Regions from separate parts of the Homo sapiens genome. Here regions 1 and 3 are each linked to region 2. Evidence: promoter capture Hi-C in 16 types of primary human blood cells and fetal thymus (Javierre and others, 2016). All regions are on one chromosome and are shown on one strand. The core of a region is centred on a gene start or on the middle of the fragment in contact, and the rest is flanking DNA. Distances in the headings are between cores, read along the strand shown.

The links. Contacts are between HindIII fragments. The CHiCAGO score rates a contact against its expected background, and 5 or more counts as called.
Region 1: a fragment that was not itself captured here is called in contact with the fragment with the promoter of ZNF14 in region 2 in 1 of 17 cell types (naive CD4 T cells); the score reaches 5.5 in naive CD4 T cells.
Region 3: a contact is called between a fragment that was not itself captured here and the fragment with the promoter of ZNF14 in region 2, in 1 of 17 cell types (non-activated CD4 T cells). The highest score is 5.1, in non-activated CD4 T cells.

What each region holds. Positions count from the first base shown.
Region 1 is chr19:19,960,706-19,964,707 of GRCh38, reverse strand. It overlaps the pseudogene BNIP3P12. Among named protein-coding and RNA genes, the nearest start is that of ZNF93, 62 kb to the right of the region's middle. The HindIII fragment of the contact is 4,095 bases long and covers 1-3,938 here.
Region 2 is chr19:19,730,933-19,734,574 of GRCh38, reverse strand. It overlaps ZNF14 (zinc finger protein 14), which reads left to right and starts at 1,463. Exons shown (of 4, transcript NM_021030.3): 1 at 1,463-1,619. The coding sequence starts at 1,617. RefSeq lists a silencer at 1,808-1,957. The HindIII fragment of the contact is 5,906 bases long and covers 1-2,801 here.
Region 3 is chr19:19,937,176-19,940,813 of GRCh38, reverse strand. It overlaps LOC124904665 (a long non-coding RNA gene), which reads left to right. Exons shown (of 3, transcript XR_007067170.1): 1 at 1-1,079; 2 at 1,152-1,248; 3 at 2,131-2,296. Among named protein-coding and RNA genes, the nearest start is that of ZNF93, 38 kb to the right of the region's middle. The HindIII fragment of the contact is 1,208 bases long and covers 1,018-2,225 here.

The DNA.
Region 1 (4,002 bases), core at 642-3,141, 230 kb before region 2:
CAGAGTCAGACACCGCACTCACCATACTATGGAGGATTTGTCACCACAGCAGGAAGAAACAGCCTGGGCTCCGGAGGCGGTCACCCGTCCATGCACAAACGAGGAGAGGTCTCTTGAAGCCTTGGTGCGGTCTTGGACCCTAGCTCTTTTTGTAACAAGTTGTTTGGCATGAGGCTCAGTCACAAGGGCCCTTTGTGACTGGGCTCAAGGAACACAAAAAGGCCAACTTGTTTTTGGGATTGCCTATTGTTTTTCAATTTCTAACGTATAGGAATAGATTGAAATAAAGATTTTTTTCTGAAACAGCACTGGATGAACGCCTCAAGGGGCTCACACAACCTCTGCCAGGACTTGGTGACCATTATTTGTGTCCACATTCAATTTAGTTCAAATTTAATATTTAACTTTCCCTCCACATTTGGCCTCAATTGGATACTCAATTGTAGGAAAATACCCTCTCAGATACATGGAAAAGGCATAATTGATATAGATTACAGATACAGGGTAACACAGGAGAATTAAAAGCACAATTAATAAAAACCACACTCAGCATGGCTTTCCAAGGAGAGTCATATTGTGAGAATTACCAGAGATATACACACAACATTCAGTTTGCAGTAACGTGCAAACCCCTCCTTGGGCTGCGGTAAGCATTTTTAATGCCATTTGATTTTGCAACACAATAGTACGCAGCTGAGCAAATTCATCTGATAACAACACAAGTTCAGTGCTACTATCATTAAGAGCTTTTTCTACATGTAAGGTAAATATTTTAATGTGTTGGTGAAGGAGGAATGTACTGGTGGCAGGGGAGAATACTGTGATAGGGTACCACCACCAGGGAGACCAGCACATTTGTAACCAGTGGTGTTTGTAAGCATCTAGATTACTGGGGAAGGGAATATTATCCCGGATAGTGAATGGAATTAATGTCCACCCTCAAGTGCATCTTCCCATCCAATGCAGGGACAGTATTGCAACCCATAGGATCTGCATACCCAGAGGGCCCCCCAGGGGACAGCAATGGAGCTACTGTAATCATAGTGTACTAATGTGTTATTAAAATAGGAAAGAGATTGTGGTTCATTGGGGGGCAGTGTTGTTGATTTGGAGTATGTGTTGACAAATGTCTGAAGAAACCCCAAAGAAACATTAGAGGAGCCATTTAAGGCCTCCAGAAAAAGCGAAGCCTGTATGGAATCCAGCCACCAGCACAGCAGGTTTTCAGTGTATATTGTTCCAGGATTATTGGGCAAGATATCAAGACTTTTGATGCAAGGTGAGGGTGGAGTTCATCTTTTGTCTGACCTGGCAAAGATAGATTGCTTAGTGTGGTGAAAGGAAGCCCAGGTTGGATTGCAAGTGTTGTTGTTGTTGTGGCCCTACTGGTAACAATATAGCCATTCAGAAATGTTGTCAGGGACGATTCTTCAAGATAGCCCATCCCAGGCAGCCTCCGGCAACTCAACATATAGCCAACATTGACTGTGGATGGCTTCAGTTGCAGCGGTGGCTACCCAGGTGATGAATTTATTCTTGGCTTCAGACACAAAGACACAGGTGCTGACCATTAGTAGATAGGTTATTCCCTGTAATAACAAAAATGGAGTGGAACATGATTTATTTTTCATCTTTAGGAAATTGTACTATGCCTTCATTTCCCGCTTTCATAGCTACAAGGTCACCAGCCTTAGGGTCAAGATGTGATGGACGCTGTATGCATATTTTGGCTCCAGGATTTAAGCTACCTGTACCAGGGGATCTGAATCCCCCAGTTCTGTATGTAGACTCTGTTGGGGCAGAGATTTCCTCAGGAGTTAATTGTTGACAAGGGTACCACTAAAAATTGAGTAACCAGCATCTAGTTTTATAGCAAAAGAATCTGGAGTGTTATTGTATAAAATGACCTTTAACTCTCCCTGGTAATCACTATCAATTACACCACCATACACTATAATGCCTCTCTTTGCAAGGCTTGAACACATTGTAATCTATTCATCCACATTCAAGTTTACTGTTATGGTGGAAATTGTGGCCTGTTTTTCTTCCTGCTGATTAAATAGCCTGTCAAGAGAAAGCAGAGATGCATGGGCATCAACATGGAAAACAGGGCTGCACATGGTGGTGAAGGGGGCCTGCCCCTCCACACCTGTGGGTGTTTCTCACAAGGTGGAGATGAGAGACTGAGAAAAGAAATAAGACACAGAGACAAAGTATAGAGGAAGAAAGGTGGACCCAGGGGACCGGCGCTCAGCATACGGAGGACCCGCACCCGGCACTGGTCTCTAAGTTCCCTCAGTATTTATTGATCACTATCTCTTTCATCTCAGTGAGGGGGATGTGGTACGACTACAGGGTAATGGTGGGGAGAGGGTCAGCAGGAAAACATGTGAGCAAAGGACTTTGTGTCATAAATAAGTTTAAGGAAAGGTGCTGTGCCTTGATGTGCACGTAGGACAGATTTATGTTTGACTTTACACAAACATCTCAGTGTCGTAAAGAGCAGTATTGTCGCCAGCATGTCTCACCTCCAGCCATAAGGTGATTTTCTCCTATCTCAGTAAATAGAATGTATGATCAGGTTTTACACCGAGACATTCCATTCCCAGCGATGAGCAGGAGACAGATACCTTCCTCTTATCTCAACTGCAAAGAGGCCTTCCTCTTTCACTAATCCTCCTCAGCACAGACCCTTTATGGGTGTCGGGCTGGGGGATGGTCAGGTCTTTCCCTTCCCATGAGGCCATATCTCAGGCTGTCTCAGTGGGGGGAAACCTTGGACGATACCCAGGCTTTCTTGGGCATGAGGTCCCTGCGGCTTTCCGCAGTGCATTGTGTCCCTGGGTACGGGAGACTGGAGAATGGCGATGACTTTTACCAAGCATACTGTCTGCAAAGACATTTTTAACAAAGCACATCCTGTACAGCCCTAAATACATTAAATCTTGAGTCAATACAGCACATGTTTCTGCGGGCACAGGGTTGGGGCTGGGGTTACAGATTAACAGTATCTTAAGACAGAAGAATTTTTCTTAGTACAGATCAAAATGGAGTTTCTTATGTCTTCCTTTTTCTACATAGACACAGTAACAGTCTGATCTCTCTTTCTTTCCCCCACATGGTGGCTGACGCCTGTAATCCCAGCACTTTGGGAGGCTGAGGTGGGCGGATCACGAGATCAGGAGATCGAGACCATCCTGGCCAACATGGTGAAACCTTGTTGAAACAGTGATAACAGTGAAACAGTGATAATGGCAGTGTGCAATGGATTGAGATATCTTCCAAGTATTGTTGTCCCCAAACCTCTTTATTCTGAATTAACCATTTGTTTCATTGTCATTGGGGCTTCCAGGTAGAAAGACCATTTGGTACTGACCAAGATTTGGTATACAAGTGAGAAATCCCTCTGCCTTCCTCCTGAATAGCTTGAAGGATGGCTACTAGTTCAGCTAACTCGCTGCTCCCACCCCTTCCTTCATCAGAAATTTTTATGTTTTTAACAGGATTATAAGCCACAGCCTTCCAGCATCAGGTCCCACCAATGTATTTGGCGGATCCGTCTGTAAATCAAGCATGTTTCTGATCCTCTGGGCTTAGTTCTTCAAAGGATTTGCCCCACTGGGTGGGAGTGAGGGGATTTCCTTCCCTACCTGCAGGACTTGCTCCATGATTTCCTGAGCTGGCAGGTTTTGTGCATCCTCATGTAAAAGTGATACCCACTTTGGTTTTGGCTTAGCCTGGTCTTGTATGTACCACGTCCATTTTATGATGCTCCTTCTTGGGCATGCCCTATCTGGTGGGTTTTGGGGGAACTCATGAGCCAAGTCATAATAGGAGTTTCGGGCCTCATAAAGACATCATGGTTGAAGCAGAGGTGTTCTGTTTCCAGCAAAGCCCAATAAGAAGCTAACAATTGCTTCTTGAAAGGGGTATAAGCTTTTCCGGCCTCTGGCAGTTTCTGGGTCCAAAACCTGAAAGGTACCCTCTTCCCACCTTGTTTCT
Region 2 (3,642 bases), core at 214-2,713:
TGACTAATTTAGGAACTCTTTAAAAAATGTTTAAATAAAGCATTAAAAAGAAGTAAATTGGGGACAGGCGAGGTGGCTCACACCCCCAGCACTTTGGGAGGCCAAAGAGGGCAGATCACCTGAGGTCAGGCGTTCGAGACCAGCCTGGCCAACATGGTGAAACTCTATCTCTACTACAATACAAAAATCAGCCGGGAGTAGTGGTGGGCGCCTGTAATCCTGGCTACTCAGGAAGCTGAGTCAGGAGAATCACTTGAACCTGGGAGGCAGAGGTTGCGGTGGCTGAGCGCCACTGCACTCCAGCCTGGGCAACGAGAGCGAGACTCCATCTCCAAAGGAAAAAAAAAGAAGTAAATTGGCCGGTGGCAGTGGCTCACACCTGTAATCCCAGCACTTTGAGAGGTCGAGGCAGGAGGATTGCTTGAACCTAGGAGTTCGAGACCAGCCTGGGCAACAGAAGGAGACACACATCTCTACCAAAAATTAAAATTAAAATTAAAACAATTAGCCAGGCCTGGTAGTGCGTGCGTGTAGTCCCAGATACTTAGGAGGCTCAGGTTGGAGGCTTGCTTGAATCCAGGAGTTGAAGCCTGCAGTGAGCAATGATCACACCACTGCACTTCAGCCTGGGCTACAGAGCAAAACCCTGTCTCTTAAAAAAAAAAAAAAGAAGAAGAGGCCGGGCGTGGTGGCTCACGCCTGTAATCCCAACGCTTTGGGAGGCCGAGGCCGGCAGATCACGAGGTCAGGAGATCGAGACCATCCTGACTAACACAGTGAAACCCCGTCTCTACTAAAAAAATACAAAAAATTAGCCGGGCGTGGTGGCGGGCGCCTGTATTCCCAGCTACTCGTGAGGCTGAGGCAGGAGAATGGCGTGAACCCGGGAGGCGGAGCTTGCAGTGAGCCGAGATGCGCCACTGCACTCCAGCCTGGGCGACAGAGCGAGACTCCGTCTCAAAAAAAAAAAAAAAAAGAAGAAATAAATCCTAACACATACTACAAGGTGAAGCTCGAGGACATTATGCTAAGTGAAATAAGCACGTCAGGAAAGGACAAATACTTTATGACGCCATTTACATGAGATTCCCACAGTCAAATTCACGAACTCAGACAATGGAATGGAGGTTGCAAAAGACCCTGAGGGAAGGAGGTGCACGGGGAGTTGTGCAACGAGACAGATTTCAGTGTTGCAAGATGAAAACAATTCTGGAAATTGGCTTCACAATGTGAATGTATTTAACAGTACTGAAGAGAACACTTAAAATGGATGGGAGGCAAAGAACACATTCGGTTTAAACGCAAACGTCCTGGCGGGGACAAGCCGGACTGAAGCCAGGCCAGCTCAACCACGCCCCTTCCTGCTCCGCTGTCACTCAGTGATAAAGAGGCGGGGCCATTGGATCTGTCCAATCAGGACCTCAGCTGAAAAGATGTGAGCGGCGCCACGCTGGGCCTGCGCAGTGCGGACGTCGCCATTCCTGGCCCATGGGAAGATTGCGTTTCACCTGCTCCTGAAGGCCGAAGGTGGCTCTAGCGCATCCTTTGTCGCGCCGTGACCTGCAGGTACTGACAGATCCGTAGGGAGGACACCGTGACTTCCCGGACGCTGGGAAATGGTGAGTGTGCGGGGCCAGTGTCCGAGGGGAGGTTTCTGGTTGGAACCGTCTGTGGCCGAGGCCGGGGACCTCCTTGCAGTCAACTCCGGGGTTTGCAGACCCGGGGGCCACCGCGGGCGCAGTTCGGCCCTCGGTCCTCTCTGTGGGAGCTGGACCCGCAGCCGGGAGCCCCAGCGTCCTGTCCCGTCCCCGCGGGGCGACCTCGGCCCCCGGTCCTGGAGCCCTCTATGGGCAGCTCTGCGCCCGCAGCCCCGCGTCTCCCCGGATTGTTCGGTGACAGCGGGAGGGTCCTGGGGAGATCCCATCTCGGTCTGTGGGGTTTGTGCGTTTAAGAAACCACTTGGTTGGAAACCTTACGATGAATCCACGGGTGCGTTTCCTCACTTGTGAGAACCGAAGCCTGGCTAGGTCCTTGCTGCCGGGGTCAGGTTCCTGTGGCTGTTCAAACGCCCCTGCCCTCATCACCAGGGACTGACCCCCTCTAGTGCTCCCAGCACTCAAGTCTGGGGGTGTTTTTGACCTTCTGAATGTGGGCTTTCTTTTCGAACTGCGGGGAAGGGGACTCCTTATCTTAACTGATCAGAAAGTTTGTGTTTCTTCCCTTTGGACTCCTTGATCAAATATTAATTCTAGCCACCCTTAATTCCAGTTTCCCTTCGCTCTGGGTAATTTTGTTCCCTTGCGTGAATGTGTGCGATTTTTAGTTTCTTTGGTTTCTGGATGGAATTAATTGTGAGCTTGTTCAGGTTCTTTTAAATTTTCTTGTTTGTGTGTGTTTATCTGTGTGGTTTCTACCCAAGAGATTTCGCCTATGTTGGAGTGCCATGATGATGCAAAATCTCTGTATGTCATTTGTTCCGTATATAAGTGGTAAGCATTTTTTTTTGTGTGTGACGGAGTCTCGCTCTGTCGCCCGGGATGGAGTGCAGTGGCGCGATCTCCAGCTCACTGCAAGCTCCGCCTCCCAGGTTCAAGCCATTCTGCCTCAGCCTTCCCAGTAGCTGGGACTACAGGCGCCCGCCACCACGCCCAGCTAATTTTTTTGTATTTTTAGTAGAGACGGGGTTTCACCGTGTTAGCCAGGATGGTCTCGATCTCCTGACCTTGTGATCTGCCCGCCTTGGCCTCCCAAAGTGCTGGGATTACAGGCGTGAGCCACCGCGCCCGGCTAAGTGGTAAGCTTTGAGGTGTTTGTGAGAGTGATGTTTATGACACACACCACTTTGATACATTCTGATTGTAAGTGTATGTTGTGATTTTTTCTTTCCTCGTGTGGTTGTAATAGGTCAGTGTGTTTTTCTCTGAGCAATTAACCAGTGGAAGGTTCCTAAGTCTAGAGTCATTGTGGGTAGTTTTGTTGTTGTTTTTTTTCTTTTTTTTGAGATGGAATCTCACTCTGTCGCCCAGGCTGGAGTGCAACGGCATGATCACAGCTCACTGCAACCTCTGCCTCCCTGGTTCAAGCAGTTCTCCTGCTTCAGCCTCCTGCATAGCTGGGATTACAGGCACCCACCACCACACCCGGCTAATTCTTTTATTTTTTAGCAGAGATGGGGTTTCACCATGTTGGCCAGGCTGGTCTTGAACTCCTGACCTCAGGTGGTCTGCCTGCCTCAACCTCCCAAAGTGCTGGGATTACAGGCATGAGCCACCGCGCCTGGCTGATTGTGGGTATTCTTTTGATGCTGATATGTCAGTTTGGGTACCATATCTAGTTTGGGTACCCTATCCTGAAAGGTGTAGTATATAGTTTTTCAGAATTGGAATACTAATTATTTTTGTATAAAATAATCAATAAATAATGGTTTTTCTAAGGTGGTTATTTGTAGATTATATCTTTTATCTGTCTGTGTACTTGGGTCAAAAGCTAGTTGTGAGTCTCCTCATCTTAATTCAAGTAGGCTTAATATACGTGACCTTGAATCTTCACATCCTGATGGTTTGGATGTATCCAGTTGAACTACAGCTGCTTTATGCCAGTGTTTTGTAAATAATTTTCCTGATTGTATTGGGTTTCTTTTTT
Region 3 (3,638 bases), core at 372-2,871, 210 kb before region 2:
TTTTAAGTTTTCTATTAAAACCAGTGCTTGCAGAGACATTCTATTTAGCAACTTGTTTTCTATTCCTGCAGATCCAGTAATTGCTCCCCAAGTAACAAAAAAGTAAACATAAACAGAATAAAATTTTCTCTAAACTGCATTAAACTCATCCTTTCTATATCTTTTCTATCTGTCTATATTTAGCTTTTATTTCTTACAACTTTTTAAAAAATTTGATGACAGAGAAACAGAAGAATAAAAATGCTGGGCCCTTTATCTAAATCCTGAAAATTCCTAAACCCTTAGTACTAGCTCCCAGGGTATTATGAGAATTAAATCACATAATGTGTTATGCCCAGCACAGTGCTCTGTATCATACTCTTGAGCACATAGTACTTGCTTAATAAACATTGCAGTAGTACATGTGTACATGTTGTTTTTTAAACCCAGACTTATTCAAACATTGCTGCCTTCTGTTTCCTCTATAAACTTAAAGAGCCAGCAAAGAATATAAAACTTTAGGATGGAGATGGGTTGTCCTTATTTGCACGACAAGTATTTGGTTGTGAGAAGGGTGTTAAGTGTAAGGGACCCTGTGCTCTGCCTGCTTTCTCTAATGCTAATAATGAGCCAAGGGGGAGCAACATCAGCATTGACAGGAGACTTGTTTAAAACACTCTTTCATAAACCCTTTTCAAACCTGCAGAATCACCTTACATAATGTGGGACCAAAATTACCAAGTGATTTATACTTGTGCCCTCCCCACAGCTTCTGTTTATTGTTCTGGGTGGAAGGATCCATGTTGTTTTAATGAAGGGCCTCATGTGACTCTAAGGTGAGGCCAGAATCAAGTATGAAGGCTTCAAAATACATTTTCGAGAGTTAAGTTCCACCTTTGCACTAAAGGGTGGTCACAGGGCCTGTTCTGTTTGGGTTTGGTAGGGACAGGTCAGTGTGGTGCATATTTCCATTACTGTAGCAGAAATTGCTGGAGTCTCTGGCAGGGGAGGGCACCTGAGGACAGGAAAGGAGAAGCTTATATTTTTGTCTTCATGGAGCAGCTCATTATTCCTGAATCTATTCTGTTTAAAAGACAGCAGTAAGTGAATTTTTCTTTTTCTGCCAGTTGATGTCATACTAGCAGGTAAATGTGGTACTGACACCTTTAAAGGCATATTCTCCATATGCAGGTGTAACTTGTCCAGAGAATCTCATCTGAGAAGGAATTCCAGAGGAGGAGGAGAAAGAAAAAAATGGCTTTTCTTCAGGTAAACATGTGTCAGATGAAGAGCTGTGTCCACTCTGCCTCCTGGACTGCCATGCGTTTAGTACTCACAAACCTTTACTTCTCTACTTGTGTTTTTCCTCCCTAAGGAGTTTGGTTTAACTACTTCTTAAAATTCTTATGATAGTCAAGGGTCTCTGGAAAACGTTTCTGTCCTATGTCCCACAGACTTCTCTACATTCTGTACGTCATAGCTTCTTATATGCCATGCAGAATGCTCCGCAAGAATTTATGACCTGCAATATTAAAAATGTTCCCTTTGTGGCTGTTGAACATGGAAAGATGTGGATACTCAAGGTTTCTATTGGGGAAAACTGTGGCCCTTAGTAAAGATGGAGAACATGTAATGTTGAGGCTCCAGCTGTGTGTTCCATTAGCTCTATGCAGAAGAGGATTAAGAAAATGCTGATTTAAATGGAATGGCATTTATTACCCAGAAAGTTCTGAAAAAAATTATTAGGAGATACTTGCTCTCTAGGGTGCTAAATGAAGCCTAATTAAAATTCCTACTAAAAATTACAGAACATAGGAGTTACCTGTATTTTGAAGTTTGCATAAACTGTTGTTTATGGTTAAATTCAGACTAGTTTACTGTTTTGGGGAGGAATATTTCAACAGTGATGCTGTGTTCTTCTGTGTGCAGTAGCACATCATAAAAATTTGTCCTAGTGCAGTTAATGGTTAATGATTCACTTGGTGAAATAGCTGATTGATTTTTTTCACTGTAGAGATAACTATTTTTCTCTTCATAATTATCTTTATGCAGCTGCTCTACACAAGTGATCACATTTAATCTGGCAGTTCTCCTTTTATTTTTTCTACATATTTTTCTTTAGAAAATGAAGGCTCTTATCTTTGTTTACAGGCTAGAAAAACTGGGAAAACACAGGCTCTACCACTTACTGGATCTTTGACAAAATATCCTTATTAGGCCAAAAACGTTAGCATTACTGGTAAGCTTGTTAGAAATTCAAAAAATCAGCGGGGAGCCCTGGCTCATGCCTGTAATCACAGCATTTTGGGAGGCCAAGGCAGGCAGATCACCTGAGGTTGGGAGTTTGAGACCAGCCTGACCAACATGGAGAATACCCTGTCTCTACTAAAAATACAAAAATAGCTGGGCGTGGAGGCACATGCCTGTAATCTCAACTACTCAGGAGGCTGAGGCAGGAGAATTGCTTGAACCCAGGAGGGGGACACTGCCGTGAGCCAAGATGATGCCACTGCACAGAAGCCTGGGCAACAAGCATGAAACTCCGTCTCAAATAAAAAAGAAAAGGAAATAAATACGTAAATCAGACTTACTCCAGATCTTCTTGGAAAAAAAAAAAAACCTGCATAAGGTCTTCAGCTTATTGTACATAATAAATTTGAGAAATGCCTAAGTGAATGTCTTTTCCATCTGAAAAATATTCACAACTCATTCCGTATGATGTAAATATAGCACTCAAAAATGTACATGTTCGTGTTCATGCCCTTAATTTTATACTTTATTATCTAGAAAAATAAAATATATGAACTGTTGTTCTGGATCTTATGGTGCTTTTTTTTTTTTATCATAGTTAGAGAATAATATTTCTGTTTTGAAAATTATTTTATTGGATAATTTTAGTCAGTGCTATAAGTCAGAACCACTTCTCTTTACTCTCTCATTTCACCTTAAGTCAAATTAAAAATTCCACACCTGGCCACTTGGTAAAAATGTGTGTGTTCTTCAGGGACCATTGCAATTTAGAGATGTGGCCATAGAATTATCTCTGGAGGAGTGGCATTGCCTGGACACTGTACAGCGGAAGTTGTATACGAATGTGATGTTAGAGAACTATGGAAATATGGTCTTTCTTGTTGAGGATAACTTTAAGACATAATTCATAATATACCCTAAAGGTTTTATTTCTCTTTTATGTAGAACTTTTTAGTAATCTATTCTTTGCATAAAAGAGTTTCAGATCCCCTTTTTTCAGAAAATCTTCAAAATTTGCTCATGCAGAAAAGTCTCTTCAAGATGTTTCATCTTAATCCAAACTTTCCACATTCCTGATTTGAGCTGTATAATTCACTCTAAATTAGTGGTAATTCCAAAAATTTAGTGACAAAGTATTCTTGCCCCCACCTGAAAATCTAATTGCCACCAATTTTTGATTCAGTAGTATTAGATAGTAAAATTAAGAAACCTACAAATTGAAAGCATTTTCTAAATATTTAGAAATTTGTTATAGATTAGTATTTTGTAATTAATTTACTAGAATATTTTATCACATCCTCTCTACTGAACACATTACTAGCTTGTAATTGGAGAATATGAGCACGATTCATGTTATTTATTCTTAATACAACAGTATTGTTGTCTCTAAGCCAGACCTGATCACTCAT